Regions from separate parts of the Homo sapiens genome. Here all the other regions are linked to region 2. The links are contacts of gene promoters, found by promoter capture Hi-C in human tissues and cell types (Jung and others, 2019). All regions are on one chromosome and are shown on one strand. The core of a region is centred on a gene start or on the middle of the fragment in contact, and the rest is flanking DNA. Distances in the headings are between cores, read along the strand shown.

The links. Contacts are between HindIII fragments. The study calls those that stand out against the background at their distance.
Region 1: a contact is called between a fragment that was not itself captured here and the fragment with the promoter of CDADC1 in region 2, in 1 of the 25 tissues and cell types used here (aorta).
Region 3: a contact is called between a fragment that was not itself captured here and the fragment with the promoter of CDADC1 in region 2, in 1 of the 25 tissues and cell types used here (lymphoblastoid cells).

Annotation. Positions count from the first base shown.
Region 1 is chr13:49,426,515-49,429,553 of GRCh38, reverse strand. All of the region lies in intron 3 of CAB39L (calcium binding protein 39 like), which reads left to right. Among named protein-coding and RNA genes, the nearest start is that of CAB39L, 16 kb to the left of the region's middle. The HindIII fragment of the contact is 4,830 bases long and covers 1-3,039 here.
Region 2 is chr13:49,246,371-49,249,397 of GRCh38, reverse strand. It overlaps CDADC1 (cytidine and dCMP deaminase domain containing 1), which reads right to left and starts at 1,473. Exons shown (of 10, transcript NM_030911.4): 1 at 1,279-1,473; 2 at 433-527. The coding sequence starts at 1,360. LOC105370203 (a long non-coding RNA gene) reads left to right here and starts at 1,558. Exons shown (of 2, transcript NR_135318.1): 1 at 1,558-1,763. RefSeq lists enhancers at 1,351-1,580, 1,050-1,612. The HindIII fragment of the contact is 6,098 bases long and covers 167-3,027 here.
Region 3 is chr13:49,109,237-49,111,965 of GRCh38, reverse strand. The region is part of intron 3 of FNDC3A (fibronectin type III domain containing 3A); the gene reads right to left. Among named protein-coding and RNA genes, the nearest start is that of MLNR, 110 kb to the left of the region's middle. The HindIII fragment of the contact is 6,783 bases long and covers 1-2,729 here.

The sequences.
Region 1 (3,039 bases), core at 183-2,682, 180 kb before region 2:
TTTTCCTAATAAAATAAACTAAGTAAGGAGGGAAAAATAATGCATGAAAATATTTTGATAGGATTGACTATGAGAGTGACAAATGGGAAATAACCTAATGTCAGTGATAGAGGGTTAAGCAAATTACTGTAGTATTAGTGTTGTCAAAAATGATAATTTTTTGCTGGGTGCAGTGACTCATGCCTGTAATTTCAGCTATTTGAGAGGCTGAGGCAGGAGGACCGCTTGAGGTCAGGAATTCAAGAGCAGCTTGGGCAACATAATAAGACCTCATCTCTAAAAAAATTTTAAAAATTAGCCAGTATGGTGGCATGCCTGTAGGGCCAGCTACTAGGAAGGTTGAAGCAGGAGCATCACTCTAGTCTGGGAGTTGAAGGCTGCAGTGAGCTATGGTCATACCATTGATTCATGTTTCTTATCTGTAAAGTGGGGCTAACATAATAATATTTGCTTTAGTTTTCTTTCAAGGCTATTGTAAAGAATACATATGAACAGTCTGGATATTATAAAATGCTATATAATTATAGTGAGGAATATTAATTTAGCATTTTTTGTTTACATTTATATCAACTTAAAAACAAATTTTCAGACATCTTTGAAGTAAACCATTTAATTTCTGGAATTTAGAAATATATATTCAAAATATGTGATTGTAATCATTGACTTGTTTATCTTTGCTATGCTTTTTACTTAACTTTTGTGGTAGACCGTTGTCTATGCAAAAGTCATACCAACCTCCTACTTTCCTGCTTTCTTTTTATGATTGAGGCAAAAAATGCCACATACTTATTTTTCTAGGCTCCTTGGCACTTAGTGGGTAACTGTTTTATTCTCTTCAGGCCAAAGAGATATAGAAGTTTATTGGAGAGCTCCCTGAACAATATTTTCCCCCTAAGAAAAGAGAAGTTATGTGAAGAAGTTCCCCCTTTCCCTCCCTGTTTCTTTCCTTCCTTATTTGGGTGTTGTAAATGAGACTCTGCCTGGAATTGCCAAGCCACTGCAGCAGCCAGCCTCCAAGATGGCCCCCACCACCTGCTGGTATTTGCGCCCTGTGGATTCATTCTTCTTCCATACTGTGCCAAGACTGGTCTGTGTGACCAATAAAAAACAGCAGAATGTTAATTTTAAGATTAGATTATTAAAGACATTGCAGTTTCCATCTTTATCACGCTTTTGCTGATCACTTGCTCTGGGAGAAGCTAGTCAAGTGAGCATCCCTATGGAGAGGCCCAAACAGCAAAGAACCAAAGCCTCTAGCCAGTAGCCAGTAGTCCTTCCAGCTCCAGTCAAACTTCATGATGATTGCATTCCTGCCTGAGGCTGACATTTGAGTCAGAACCATTGAGCTAACTACTCCTGGATTCCTGACTCTCAGAAACTATGTGAAATAATAGATCTTAAGCTATGTGTTTTAAGCTTACAAGTTTTGGATAATTGTTACACAGTAGACAACTAATTTGATACTGGCACTAGAGGTTGATTGATGCAGTAGACTGATTGTGTCCCCACAAAATTCCTATGTTGAAACTTAATCCCTAATGAGATGGTATTTGGACATGGGGCCTTTAGGAGGTGATCAAGTCATTAGGGTGTAGCTGTCATGAATAAGATTAGTGTCCTTGTAAGAGTCCTGAGAGAGCTTGTTTCGCCTTCCACTATGTGAGGATACAGCGAAAAGATGGCCATCTGTGAACCAGGAAGTGGGCCCTCACTGGACCCTGAATCTGCTGACACCTTCATCTTGGGCTTCCCAACCTCCTGAACTGTGAGAAATAAATTTATATTGTTTATAAGCCACCCATCTATGTTATTCTGATATAGCAGTTCAAATGAAGTAAGATAAGTGATGTCAACAATTTTTTTTTGAGCTAGGGTCTTGCTCTGTTGCCCAGGCTGGAGTGCAGTGATGCTATCACAGCTCACTGCAGACTTGACCTCCTGGGCTAAAGCAGTCTTCCCATATCAGTCTCCCAAGTAGCTGGGATTACAAGTGTGCACCACCACGCCCAGCTAATTCTTTTATTTCTTGTAGAGATATGGTCTTACTGTGTTGCCCAGGGTGGTCTCAAACTCCTAGGCTTAAGTGATCCTCCTGCTTGGCCTCCCAAAGTGCTGGGATTGCTTTGGGAACAATCCCATATGAGCCATGGTGCCCAGCAACAAATATTTTAAGTGGGCATGGCTTTGGAACTTCGTAGTGGATGAAAGGTGAATGGACATTGAAGACACTGTCAGTGTAAATCTAAAGTATCTTGGAGAAACTGTAGACTCATGTTTTTTTGGTGAGGTTGCCAGGAAGGGCTTAAAGGAAAATGGGAGAATCTTTTTAGAAACTGGAGGAAAGGGGATCCTTCTAATATAGTAGCATAAGCTTTATAATGCAACACTGTCACCTGTAGTAATGTAGAAACTAGAATGCACATAATGAACTGAGTACCGTAGCTAAGAAGATTTCCAACTAGACTTGAAGGTGCCACCTGGTTTGTGCCTAAAGAGTGACAGGAGCAAGTATGCTAAAGAAAGGATTGATAAACCTGAAGGTGCTGAGACTTGATAGTTTTGACCATGTCAGCCTCTCCAAACAGTAAATGATGCTAAATTAAGAAATGGCTTCTTCTAAGTGAAAGGGAGAAATAATAATTTTCCTCAACCTTCATAAGTTCGTAGTTGGGACAGACTCCTGCAGCAAAAAACAGATGAACAAGAGAGAAACAAACACGTATAGTAATGCTGCAGTGCAGTTCACATGAGAGAAAAGTAACTCAAGAGTGGCTTAGAGTGGTTTAGAATCCCAGCTCATAGAAAATCTTCAATAAAGAGCAATAAATTGGCTGGGCGCGGTGGCTCACTCCTGTAATCCCACCACTTTGGGAGGCCGAGGCAGGCAGATCACGAGGTCAGGGGAACGAGACCATCCTGGCTAACACGGTGAAACCCCGTCTCTACTAAAAATATAAAAATTAGCCGGGTGTGGTGGCAGGCGCCTGTAGTCCCAGCTACTCAGGATGCTGAGGCAGGAGAATGGCTTGAACCCGGGAG
Region 2 (3,027 bases), core at 224-2,723:
ATCCAACATTAATCAATTAGCACTCATATAATGCTAGACTCTAAAGGGTATATGCTAGGTAAAATAAGACATGGTCTCTATCTCCAGGCAATTTATATATTTCTGTGGCAGAGGAGTAAACTACCTAGATAAAACACCAACAGTATATATAATTGGGGGAAATTATGTGGTATAGACAATAATCTTATTAGCCGAACTGACATATGAATACCATTAGTACCCGATAAACATGGTATTCTCAGAAAGTATTTTTAGAATGGAAGATGACTTATTACGGCTGGGAATTATAAAGTGTCATGTTAATCAATAAAGATATTTTTTAAATCTTAAGCCTTGTTAAGTTTGGTTTTAGGTATGACAGAAACTGGAGCAATAAACTCAGATTTTAAACCACTGCTTTTCTAAGGGGAAAAACTATGAAACAAATTATACCTGAGATTTTTGCCGCTGGGCTTCTGCTGGAAAGAGCTCCATCCAGAGGCTGAGCAGAGTGAAAAGGTTGACTTTAGAAAGCCTTGGTATCTGACCTACAAAAGAGACGACAAACACTTTAAACTTTGTTACTAATGGTGAAAAAGGGAGCCAATCTCAATGCCACTTAGGTGCTGCAGCCTAAGCCCAGCTGCTTTCGCAAGAGGCACAGAAAAAGATAGGGGACAAGAGAGTCAGAGGTATCTTAGCAGTAGACGCTTCAGCCTTAGTCGTGGCTACCTCCTTCTCCACTTAAAAAGTTGAGCCTTCTTTCTCCAGCCCTCACCCTGCAGGAAAAAACGGTACAGCTAATACACATAGCTGAGGGGGACAACCCAAAGCAAGCTGTGAAAAGTCTTCGCATCTGACGTCGTCGTGGTGCAAGCTTTTCTTTGGACTGTGATGGGGCGTTGCTAAAAGGAAAGCGATTAGAACACAACCCGAAAAATGCGCTGACCTTCGACGGTAAAGCAGTCGAAATACAGGAAAGCGTCACGTGCGGTTAATTTGGAAATCAAGGCAAAAGCGCCGTTTGGAAATGTTCAGGCTCTTTGACCTCAGAGGCCCCAGCTCTAGGTCCTGTGAGAAGTAGCTAACAGGGGTAAAAAGCGAGACTTCAAAAGCCAGTGCGACCGAGCCGATTGGTCCTGGCGACCGCGGAGGGGACACGCAGAGGGCGGGCAGGAGACATCCAAAAGCAGCAGGGGAGGCAAAGAGGCTCAGACAAGGAATCTGGAGTTCAATGACGGGAGACGCACAGGGCAGAGCGAAAGGTAGGGTGGCGGGAGCAGGGTCCCGGACACTCACCGGTCATGCTGCCAGTCTGGGTGCTGACTGACCGCCCGGCCCTCGCGCTCTCCAGATTTTGCATCTGCCCAGCTTCTTTCATCCCAAACCTAGCGTCCTCTGCTGCCAAGGAAACCTCTCCCAGTCAGACATGATCTCGGCCCTAGCGCCCCCGCCTCTCGCCTCCTCTCAGCAACTGTAAGGCAACGGCCCACTAGGCGCAGCCAGATGACGCCTCAAGCTTGACCGCCACTTCAGGGCTCCTCGTGTGACGTCATAGAGAGGCGGGGCTTTGGCGCCAGAGGGCTGCCCCTCGGCCGGTGACCGAGTTAAGCACCGAGCTGTAAATCGCTTGAGACCTGTATTTGGTTGTTTTGTTGGTTTTGCCAAGTAAGGTCACTTGAGGATTTCTTGGCTCGAGGTCCCAGGTTGCGCAGACTCTGACTGCATCGAGTTGAGAATTTTGGTCAGAATGTTAAAGTGGAAACCTACCCCAGGCTGTCATGGTCAGTGTTTTAGAGAACTTCTTGGGTTGGGGTGTGGAGCTGGGCGGTCCAGGATGTTCTGTCATCAGAGACTGGCGGGTTCTGGGGAACTTGGTGCCATGGAACACAGTAGGGACGTTCTGCTTCTCATCAAGAACATGAAGACATTAAGAGGTGGAATTGTAATGGGGAAAAAGGTGAGAGGAGGCAGTAGGAGTTATTTTGTTTTTAATTTCTAATGTCTAGTTTATTTCCACAAAACATCTGTATCATACCAGTTCTTTGAAATTTGTTCAGACTTGTTTTATGACCTAGATCAGCACTGTCCAGTAGGATTTCCTGTAGTATTCTATATCTGCACTGTCCAATATGGTAGCCACCAGCCACATGTGGCTATTGAGCATCTGAAATGTGGCCAGTACAACCAAGGAACTGCATTTTTAACTTCATTTAGTTTTAATTAATTTACATTTTAAGTAGTGACATGTGGCTATTGGCTACTACTGTATTGGACAACATTACTCTAGACTCTCCTCCTGGAATTCCTATTAGGCATAGGTTAAACCTTCTGAGGTTCTAAATTATTATTTTTAAAATATTGCATCATTTTGTTTCTCTGAGCCACATTCTGGCTAATTTCTTCAGATCTATCTTTCAGCTTGCTATTTATTTCTTTGGCTTGTAGAATTTTTTCTAGTTCGCCTGTTCTGAGGGTAAAGCTCTTCAGGTGATTTGACTATATCCAGAGAACTCCATTCTGCACCTTTCCTGAAGTGTAGACTTTGTTGACAGTGCCTTCATGGCAATTAACACTAAGGTTTAAAGACAGGCCATGGACTAGGAGAAAATATTTGCAAAGCATGTATCCAACAAAGGACTCATATCCAGAATATATAAAGAACCATATAAACTCAGAGTAAGTAAACAGTCCAGTTAGAAAATGGATCAAAGACTTGAATAGTCATTTCACCAAAGAAGATATACAGATGGCAAATAAACATGTAAAACAGTGTTCAGTGTCATTGGCCATTAGGGAAATGTATATTAAAACCACAATGAGATTCTACTACACACCTATTTAAATGGCTAAAATAACAAGTACTGACAGCACTAAATGCTAGTGAGGATGCAGAGCAACCGGATCTCTCAAACATTGCTGGTAGGACTATAAAATGGCATAACCACTCTAGAAAACAGTTTGACAGTTTCTTATAAAGTTGCACATATGCTTATCATATCACCCAGCAATCACACTCCTGGGTATTTATCCTAGACAAACCAAAAC
Region 3 (2,729 bases), core at 35-2,534, 140 kb after region 2:
ATAGTTTATAATTTGGTAATACAAGATTCTACTTTGTTTTTTAATTATATCTAAGTGTGATGCTGAAAAGAGAAATGTAAGCTAAAATAAACCAGTAGTAAATATATTACTAGATGTAGTCCAGGAAAAAGACTGATTAACTTACTTCTTTACGAAGTAATCCTTTCACTCTAGCAAAAAAATTTTTTTTTTATCCTGAGGCAGAAATTGTACATGGTTAGATTTTTTTTTTTTTTTTTTGAGACGGAGTTTTACTCTGTTGCCCAGGCTGGAGTGCAGTGGCGCTATCTCAGCTCAATGCAACCTCTTCCTCCTGGGTTCAAGTGATTCTTCTGCTTCAGCCTCCCGAGTAGCTGGGATTACATGCATGTGCCACCACGCCCGGCTAATTTTTGTATTTTTAGTAGAGACGGGGTTTCACCATGTTGGCCAGGCTGGTCTTGAACTCCTAACCTCAGGTGATCCACCTGCCTCGGGCTCCCAAAGTGCTAGGATTACAGGTGTGAGCCACCATGCCCGGCCAGATTTTCTTTTAAAAAGACAATTTATCGGTATCATATTTAATGCCTAAAATATTGCTGTGAAGTAACATTCAACACTGAATGCAAACCCCTATTGTATAAACATAATAAATACAAGTATCGATGTTTAGAACTACAACGTTTACAGCATCTCATGTCTGTTGTTACTCCTGTGTCTATAGTAGCGAAACCTTAAAGCCTTGCATATTTAATGATGTAAATGTTTGATTAGCTCCTTAGTTCCAACAATACTTTTTAATTTAGAAAGTAACAGAAAATTAACTACAAACTGACTTAAATTTGTATGCAATGAGGGAGATTTTGTCCCAAGGAAGAAACTCAGATCCTATTGACAAATGTATGCCTGGCACAAGAGTAGCAATACCTGACAACAACTGTGCATACACTTAGCAGCTCCTTTATAATCTATGTGATTTGAGCATGATTTACCCCAATCATGGAGCTATTAAGGATACATTTCCTATTTCAAAAACCTGCAGAAGAGTAAACAATTCTAACCAATTGTCTTAAGAAATTTGAGAAGCTCCCCACCCCTGCTTCTTAAAAAGTGCCATCACTGACTTAAAGAAGATATTTCAACTAGTATAACTTAAATTCTTCTTTATCTTTCCTTGTTAATATACATTCATATTTAAGAGGTTTTTTTTAAATAAAATTACAAATTTGTCCAGGAGTTTTAATTCTTAAAATGCAACGTGCTGCCGCTGTGCTACACATTCTCTATAAGCCAGCGTTCACAATGGCTTCCAAATAATCTGATGCCAATTTTCAGATTTTAGCTCTAGAAGAAAAACCTAGTAAAATAAAGATCCTAGAATGGAATATTCCGTGGAATACAAAATTACAAAATAACTCTACATAGTCTAACCTTTTTGTATTTACATGGCAACAATTTAAAATATTTTATGGCGATGATATTTAGCATCTATTTTTAAAAACACACGGCATGACTTTAGATTAATACAATGCTTTCTGTCTTAAAATAAAAGCAGAATGTTCGAAAACAGCAAATCTTACCACTCATTTCGTTTTTACAGTAGCAGCAGAGAACAAGAAAATCCAACAAGGAAACAGCGTAGTACACGTTAACAGCTTTAATTGGAGAACGGCTTTTTTTTTTTTTGCAAGGCTGTAAGAGGAAAAGATCCTTTGACCGAGTCACGTGACAGTCATCACGTGACCTGCAGTGACCCAGGAAAGGGCAAGGGGGAAAAAAAAGCAAACGTTCCCGCTTGCAGCATTTCTGATATAGGGGAAAAAAAAGATTAAATGATTTCTACTGCTGCTGCCCTGAATTTGACCATCTTTCAGACTTCCTTATGAACCAATTCAAAAGCTCATCAAAGTATACTTTTCAGAAATATATATTTGATGTACAATGATTCTCTTTGTGTTCAATAACACCACAGGTGCTATCTTCTAATTTTTTACTCATGCAGCCTGCCGCTAATTTTCATTTAGAACATTTGAGATAATATTAATTTAAAAGATTCAGTCTGAAATGTCATTGTATAACGTAATTCTCCATACTCAATCCTTAAGGAATATCCACAATACACAAATAATTGTGTATAGAATATAGGTTTGATAGACATGTGTCTCAAAGGTGGGATTTATGTTTCAGGCTGTTATTTGCCTCTTAAGAGAATAAAGACTACCACTTTCATTATTGGTTTTATTTTCTTTCTGATTTTTTTAAATTTAAGATTTAAATTAAAGTGCAGGTGCTCAGTAGATGGCATTCTTACTCATATCCACGAATCTGAAAAGACAGCCTCAGGTGCAGGTTCAGAGTTCTCTATCCAAGAACAAGTAGAGACCAGAAAGGAGACCAAAGATGTCCAGTTACAACAGGAAAGAATAAGAACTTTTGGAGATCTTTCATTACTTTATGGTGCTATGTAACTTCAGAGGAAATTTATTAACAGCTAACAAAAATATACAGGTAATGATAATGACAGTGGTTTGTAACAAGTTGTACAGTGGAAAGAAAGTGAATTTTGGTATTAAAAGATATATTTTAATAACAGCTTCAGTATTTATTAGCAAGGCAATTTACTGCTCTTCTCTGAAGTCTTAGCTTATTTCAGTGACAAGGTTAATCAACATCATAGCATTGTTGTGAGAATGAAATTAAATAAATTTAAAGTATCAAGTATATTGGTTGATGATACTCAGTAAATAGTT